Regions from separate parts of the Homo sapiens genome. Here region 1 is linked to region 2. The links are contacts of gene promoters, found by promoter capture Hi-C in blood cells and fetal thymus (Javierre and others, 2016). All regions are on one chromosome and are shown on one strand. Each heading gives the region's core, a stretch centred on a gene start or on the middle of the fragment in contact. The rest is flanking DNA. Distances are from core to core; before and after follow the strand shown. Region 1 overlaps DSN1 (DSN1 component of MIS12 kinetochore complex). Region 2 holds the start of MTCL2 (microtubule crosslinking factor 2).

What was found. The method cuts DNA at HindIII sites, captures the fragments that hold promoters and counts their contacts. A CHiCAGO score of 5 or more calls a contact.
Region 1: a fragment that was not itself captured here is called in contact with the fragment with the promoter of MTCL2 in region 2 in 1 of 17 cell types (M2 macrophages); the score reaches 5.5 in M2 macrophages.

Annotation. Positions count from the first base shown.
Region 1 is chr20:36,753,221-36,756,841 of GRCh38, forward strand. DSN1 (DSN1 component of MIS12 kinetochore complex) reads right to left here. Exons shown (of 11, transcript NM_001145315.2): 9 at 2,462-2,609; 10 at 1,543-1,630. Among named protein-coding and RNA genes, the nearest start is that of NDRG3, 8.9 kb to the left of the region's middle. The HindIII fragment of the contact is 1,595 bases long and covers 1,536-3,130 here.
Region 2 is chr20:36,861,966-36,865,947 of GRCh38, forward strand. It overlaps MTCL2 (microtubule crosslinking factor 2), which reads right to left and starts at 1,573. Exons shown (of 15, transcript NM_080627.4): 1 at 693-1,573. The coding sequence starts at 1,379. RefSeq lists silencers at 1,173-1,322, 1,393-2,282. The HindIII fragment of the contact is 4,947 bases long and covers 431-3,982 here.

The DNA.
Region 1 (3,621 bases), core at 1,083-3,582, 110 kb before region 2:
GATCCTCCAACTACATGGGAGGCAAGAGGATCACCTGGGAGCCCAGAAAGTTGAGGCTGCAATGAGTCATGACTGCGCCCCTGTATTCCACCCTGGGCAACAGAGCAAGACCCTGTCTAAAAAAAAAAAAAAAAAGGGTGGCTCATGCCTGTAATCCCTGTAATCCCAACACTTTGGAAAGCCAACATGGGCAGATCACTTGCGGTCAGAAGTTCAAGACCAGCCTGACCAACATGGTGAAACCCCATCTCTACTAAAAATACAAAAATTAGCCAGGCATGGTGGCACATGCCTGTAATCCCAGCTACTCAGGCAGCTGAGGTGGGAGAATATCTTGAACTCCAGAGGCAGAGGTTGCAGTGAGCCAAGATCATGCCACTGCACTCTAGCCTGGGCAACAGAGCGAGACTGTCTCAAAAAAAAAAAAAAAAAAGAAAAAGAAAGAAAGAAAGAAAGCCAGCCACCACTACAATCACAATACAATGTGATCAATAAGAAGATGGAGGCTGGGAGCAGTGGCTCATGCCTGTAATCCCAGCACTTTGGGAGGCCAAGGCAGGTGGATCACCTGAAGTCAGGAGTTCGAGACCAGCCTGACCAACATGGAGAAACCCCGTCTCTACTAAAAATATAAAATTAGCCGGGCATGGTGGAGCATGCCTGTAATCCCAGCTACTCGGGAGGCTGAGGCAGAAGAATCCCTTGAACCCGGGAAGCAGAGGTTGCAGTGAGCCGAGATCGCACCATTGCACTCTAGCCTGGGCAACAAGAGTGAAACTCCGTCTCAAAAAAAAAAACAAACAAAAAAACCCAAAAAAACAAGATGGTCAGGTGCAGTGGCTCACACTTGTAATCCCAGCACTTTGGGAGGCTGAGGCAGGATGATCACTTGAGCCCAGGAGTTGAAGACCAGCCTGGACAAACAGGGGGACCCCATCTCTACAAAAAAATTAAAAATTTAGCTGGGTGTGGTGGTGGTGGTGCATGCTTTTAGTCCCAGCTACTCTGGGAGCCTGAGGTGAAAGGACTGCTTGAGCCTATCAGGTTGAGGCTGCAGTGAGCTGTGCAGTCATTGTGCCATTCACTCCAACCTGGATGACAAAGCGAGAGACTTTGCCCCCCCAGCCCAAAAAAAAAGTAGAAGAAGAAAGAAAATGAAGGTATGTATAGCCAATAATTTAGGGCTGGAAGGAGGTCAGGAAAAGCTAGGGAGGAGTAATGTCAGTGTCACTTAGTGAATTCTTGAGAAATGAAGAGGGAAAAAGCAATGGGTGGGTATTTCTTAAGTCTTGGATTTACCAAAACAACAACATATTTCATGGGGATTTAATTCTCAGTCTACTGTGCTTCTGTAGAATTTACATCTAGAAATTTCCTATCAACTCTGAGTACCCATAACATACTATTTATTGTGGGGAGAAAAACAAATCACCTCATATAGGTCTTACCCTCTTGGACCATAGGCTTTGAAGGGCAGTTTGTATCCCAAAGGCTATCATGGAAAACAGCCTGAACTCTGGTCCCCTCAAGAGACAAGCTTACCGAGCTGTACTGACACCTTCTGGAAGCACTGGGTACTTTCATCCATAAAGGCCTGCAGCTGTTTCACTGATCCTTGCAGTTCATCCATCTGTAGAAAAAAGACAGCTGTGAGCTGTAAAGGTCCATGGCTTCTTGGATGTTCCTCAAACCTGACAAGCAAGCTCTTGCTCAGGAGCTCTGGGCTTGCTGTTCTTTCAGCCTGGAATGCTTATGCCAGATAATTCTGTTTGTTCCTCCAAAGTCACACCACATTCTTCTCCAGGCTGCTCTATGCTCCAGGAGGCTGACCCATGTAACCTCTACCAACAGGATGCCTAAGTGGGAAGGAGCTGAACGAGTCATCTTGAGTTGGCTCAACTCAGCTAACCATGTGACTTTCTCCCATTAGATGCCACAGTAACTGCTACTCCCTCCTCCCTTTGAGTCCTAGGAGGAGTAAGAGCTCTACTGCCTATAAGCCCCAGGTTACTCCACTAACCCTTGTGGTTCTCCAATACCCATACCTTTCTATTTAGCCTTTCTGAAAATAAACTCTCCTTGAATTGTCCTTTCAAATGCCATCTGCTTGCTATTAATACCTGGTTTGACACAACACTACTCCCTCAAACGTCCTCATGGCTCATTTCCTTCAAGTCTGTTGAAATGGCACCTCAGAGGAGCCTTCAATAACCTTGCTATATAAAATAGCAACCCACCAACCTCCCTATACTGTCTGTCTCTCTTACCCTGCTTCATCAGCATTTACCACTATATATTCATTTGTTTATTATTTTTTAATTGTCTCTCCATGTTTTCCTAAGGTAGAGTTGAATATACATATTCAACTTACACTTATACATTTCTCCAGGTCTTTTAATTTCCAAGGATTACAAGGTGGCAAAGCTGGATAACTCAACTAAATAAACATGAGCCCACTTACCACCAACTCCATACAGTCAAAGACTTTGCTCTGGTTCTGTAATATTTTCTGGTAGTCAGGTTTTGTATTAAGAACTTCATTCTGAGAAGACCCAAGATATGTCATAGGTTCCACTTTGACCTCAGTAATTTTGGCCTCAGTTGATCCTCTAAAAACAAAACACAAGAGCTTTTGAGAGATTCTGTAATTATTTTCTGGAAGAGATACCAAAGATTATCCTATAAAGCTGAATCAGTATTCCTCCACTCTACGCTAGCTATAGGCTCACTTCTTAACAGAAAGGTTTTTTTTTGTTTGTTTGTTTGTTTTTGAGATGGAGTCTCACTCTGTTGCCCAGGATGGAGTGCAGTGGTGCGGTCTCAGGTCTCGGCTCACTGCAACCTCTGCCTCCCGGGTTCAAGCAATTTTCCTGCCTCAGCCTCCTGAGTAGCTGGGATTTCAGGCACCTGCCACCATGCCCAGCTAATTTTTTGTATTTTTAGTAGAGACGAGGTTTCACCATGTTGGCCAGGCTGGTCTCGAACTCCTGAACTTGTGATCTGCCCGCTTCGGCCTCCCAAAGTGCTGGAATTACAGGCGTGAGCCACCGCGCCTGGCCTTAACAAGAAGTTCTGAAACAATTGTCTAGTATTCATGTCTTTATACCTCCGGACTCCAGGAAATGCTGGAAGCTTCCAGTCAGTTGAATCCACTTAATAGTAAGGTCCATATACCAGAAGGACTATACTTGGGAGAGAGTGAAGCCAAAGCTTACTATCCTAAAGTCAGTGTCTATAATTGTTTACCAAAACATGCTGGCCTACTTCAATTATCTAAAATAACTGAACAGGACTGAGAGTTCATGAAAACTGATGAACAACAACTTTAATAACAACAACTACTACAATTTACTGAGTGCTAAGTATATGCCAGATATTACTGGGCACTTTACATTTAACCTAATTTGACACAATAACCCAATGAGGAAGGTACTAATATCATCCCCATTTTCAAATGAGGAACCTCAGGCTCATTCAAGACTAAGTGACTTGCCCAAGGTCACAAAACTAAGGAACAGTTAGAGTCTGAACAGACAGTCTGCTTCCAGAACCATTCCTCTTAACCTACAAGCTTTGCCACAAAAGATTTTATCTGAAACTAGCATCTTACACATTATCTAT
Region 2 (3,982 bases), core at 323-2,822:
CCAATGGGGCTGTTGTGTGCACAAGGTCTGCCCCAGGGAGGGCAAAAGACACTGTCCTGGGATTTAGGAAGCTGCCTCTGAACCGGTTCTCCCACGACATCATCCTCCAGGCTGTGGGACCGTTAGGCTGGGCGGAAGTGGACTCCAGCCAAGGGGATGTTCCCAGATGTCATGCTTTCAAACTGGACCCGCCCAGAAAGGCAGGCAGAGACAGGCCTGCGCCCGGGAAAGCCCTGGGTAACGACTCAGGATGGCATTCAGGCCTTTCCTGGGCAGGGGATGGCCACAGGTTTCCCTGGCGGCGGTGTCTATCAATCCCGTCCCAAGAAGGAGAGCCTGGGCGTGGAGGTTCTGGGCAGCTGAAGGCAGAGATCCATCCCTTCCCTGGCTACCCACCCCCACCTCAGCAACGCCTCCCAGAACGCTCCAAAGCTTTCTCAAGTCCCCGCTCCCAGGTTAGGGCCCTGTAGCCAGTTCCAAGGTCTTTTTCAGGAGCGCGCTTCCCAAATAAAGTTGAGAGGGGGCGGGGGGAATGAGGGAGCCCCAGATCCACCTCAGAGTGGTCCCCAGAGGGCTTGGGCCCCTTTCTCCGGATTGTTCAGTGGGAAGGAGGGCCGGCTGGTGCCTCAGGCCCGCGGGACTGTGACAGCCGGCGACCCCTGCGACCTCCCTTTCTACCCGGGCGCCCCCACCTTGAGATAGTCGTTCTCCGAGCGCAGCTCCTCCAGCTCCCGCACCAAGCCGCTGGGCCCGCAGTCCAGCATCTCCTCGGTGAGGTCGGAGAAGGCAAGCGAGGCGCTGAGCGGCAAGCGGCTGCTGCCCACCGACGACGCGGCCACCGACGGCTCGTCCGGGGAGGCGGGCGGCCGCGGGGGCTGCTGCGCGGAGGGCGCGGGCTGGGCCGGCTGCCCCGTACGGACCCCCGCCGGGCCCCCGGCCGCGGACTCGGCGTCGCTGCTCAGCGCCAGCTCCAGGCCCAGCAGGCGCGCCTCCTCCGACGCGCAGTCCGACACCTCCGAGCTGCTATCCGTGAGGCTGGGGGGCGGCGGTGGCGGTCGCGGCCCCGCACCCGAGCGCGGACGGCCCTTGGCACGGACCCCGGTGCGGACCCCGGCCACCCGCACACCCGCACCGCGCGCCCCGGGAGCCACTGCGCGCCCCTTCTTGTCCGGCCGTGAGGAGAACGCGGCGCTGCAGGCGACTGCTGAGCCCGGGCCTGGGCCGCGGCGGCCCTTAGCCAGCGACCAGCCGGCCACGTCTTTGGGCCGGGCCGGCGACGGCGCGCGGTGGCTCTTTTTCCTCTCCGGGGCAGGCGCGGGTGCAGGCGCGGGCTGGGGACCGCAGCCCCGGACCGGGGGCTCGGCCGCCGGCGCCTCCATCGCGGCCTCCCTCGGCCTCAGCGAGCTGCGCGCATGGCCCAGGCCCGCCCGGCCTCGACGTCCCTGGGGAGGGACCCGGCGCGGCTCCGGCCGCTGGGGCTGCGGCTGCTCTCGGCCCACCTCGGCCCCGACACCGCGTCCCCGTCCCAAGCCCCGCCGCGCGGTCTCTCCGCTGCTCTGGGCTCGGAGAGTGCGGCCCGACCGCCTCCAGGCGCCCCGGCTCCGGCTGCGGCTCCGCCCGGCGCCCGCCCCCTCGGCCTCGCCGCGCCCCCGGAGCGCGCCCGGGCCCCCGCCGCCCGCACGCCGATCGCTCCCTCGGGCTCCGAGTCCGGCTGCGGCCCGGGCCCCGGCTCCGCCCGGCGCAGCCCGCCCCCCGCGCAGCCCCGCCAGCTCCCCGCCCCGCCGCCTCGGCTCGGGGGCGCGCGGTTCCGCGAACAAAAGGCGGACGCGGCGGGAGCGGCAGGGAGGGACGCAGGCAGGGAGCGAGGGAGGGATCTGCGAGGCAACAGCGACCCCTTCGAGGGTCAGGCTGGCGCGGGCAGCCGCGGCCCGGGCTCCCTCCTCCTCCGCTCCGCCGCCTCCTCCCCTGCCCGCTCGGGGAAGGCACCCGGCGGAGGCGCCCCTGCGCCCGGCGTCCGGGCAGGGCCTGCGAGAGCGGCGGGAGCCGGGACTCCCGGGCCGAGGCCGGGCGGACCTCAGTTCGCAGGAACCCGCATCCATGCACGCCCAGCGCCTCGCCCCTCGCCCCGTGCCGAGCGTGCGCGAACTCCGCCCCCTTAGCCGGCATCGCCGGAGCCGCGATCCCATCGCACAGATGCGTAAACTGAAGCCTGGGGTGCACGCGCCAAGCTCACGGTCTAGGCGGCGCCGATGGGACCCAAAGCTCACACCTCCCGGGCGCGCTCGGGCTCCCCCTGCCTCGGCTTCCCTCTCCTGGCATAGGGACCGTGAAGCCCTGTGTGCATGCCTGGCTCGCGCACCTTGACCGGCGGATATTTCTCCCCATGCGCCCCCGACCCGGGTTTCAGGCTCTGTACGGCTAAAATGGAAGCGACCCGTAGCTAGGCGCGGTGGCTCATGCCTGTAATCCCAGCACTTTGGGAGGCCGAGGCGGGTGGATCACGAGGTCAGGAGTTCGAGACCAGCCTGACCAACATGATGAAACCCCGTCTCTACTAAAAATACACAAATTAGCCGGGCGTGGTAGCGCGTGCCTGTAATCCCAGCTACTCGGGAGGCTGAGGCAGGAGAATCGCTTGAACCCGGGAGGCGGAGGTTGCAGTGAGCCGAGGTCGCGCCACTGCACTCCAGTCTGGGTGGCAGAGCTAGACTCCATCTCAAAAAAATAAACAAATAAATAAAAACAAAAATAAAATGGAGGGGACCTATTACGAGATGTCAGCCTAGCGGATGCTTTGGAAGGCGGTTTTGGCCCCCGTGGGGGCTGGCATGGGCTGGGACGGTTGCCCTGACCCCACACGTCCCCACCAGGAGCAGTGCAGGAGGACTTGAGCTCTGATGGGCGTGTTTTCTTTCCTCCCGGGCGTCTGGGCGTCTCCTTGGCTCCTGGCCGTGTTGATTTTCCCATGTCTCTCACACCTTCCCCAGCCCCCACACCGCCTGGCCGCTACGCCCCCATCCCTGAGCCACCGCAGGGCAGAGCTGGATTGAGTGCTTTGCCCCACAGATGTACCCTCGTCCTTAGGGTGCCCCACACCCCTTGCCACCAGAAGGGCAGGGCTGTTTTTGCCCCTTTACAACCTCTTTCTCCTCCTGTTCTCTCCTCCCCCTCCCATTTATCCCCTGCTCTTTCTTCCTCCTTCTTCTCCCATCTTTCCCCTTCCTTTCCCCCCTCCTTTTCCAAGTCTTCCTTTTCCTCCTCTTTCCCCTCTTCTTCCTCCTGCCCATTTTCTCCTTCTTCTTCCTCCCCCAATTCCCTTCCTTCACCTCTGCACCTGCCTGTGACACAGCAGGCACCAGGTCCACTTCTTTGTCTCTGTCCCACCTCCCCCACACGCTGTGAATACACTCCTGGGGCATCCCCTCTCTCCAGAGGCATGACTTCATCTGGATCCAGGTGAGTGAGTGCTCCTCCACCCCAACGCTAGGTGCCCTCCATACGGCCAAGTGAGGAGCAGGCACTCAGCAGGCTCTTGGCAAACACTTCCGCAGGGGCATCCCCACCCCCTCCTAGCAAGACACCAGCTCCCCTCACGGCCCACTGACTGTCCACAAACCCTGTTTGCACAGGCGCCAGGTACACTGAGGGACGCAGTGGTGGGCATGTCAGTGCCTGAACTCATGGAGCACACAGTGTGTGTTGGGGGGGACCACAAAAGACTCAGCACAAACAGGGTGGCATGGCATGTGGGCAGGAGTGCTGGAGAAGGATGTGGGAGCCGCAGGCTAGTGACCCAGGGCAGGCCTTCCCACATTCCGGGCCTCAGAGTCCCCACCTGCTCTGGTCTAATGTAACAGATGACAGGGTCCATCCAGCTCAGATGCCCCTGGCTCTAGTAGGCTGCATCTAGTCTGGCACAGAAAGATGCTGTGAAGCTCTTGGAAAGTGTGTCCTCTCTCTGTGCTTCAGTTTCTGCCCCTGT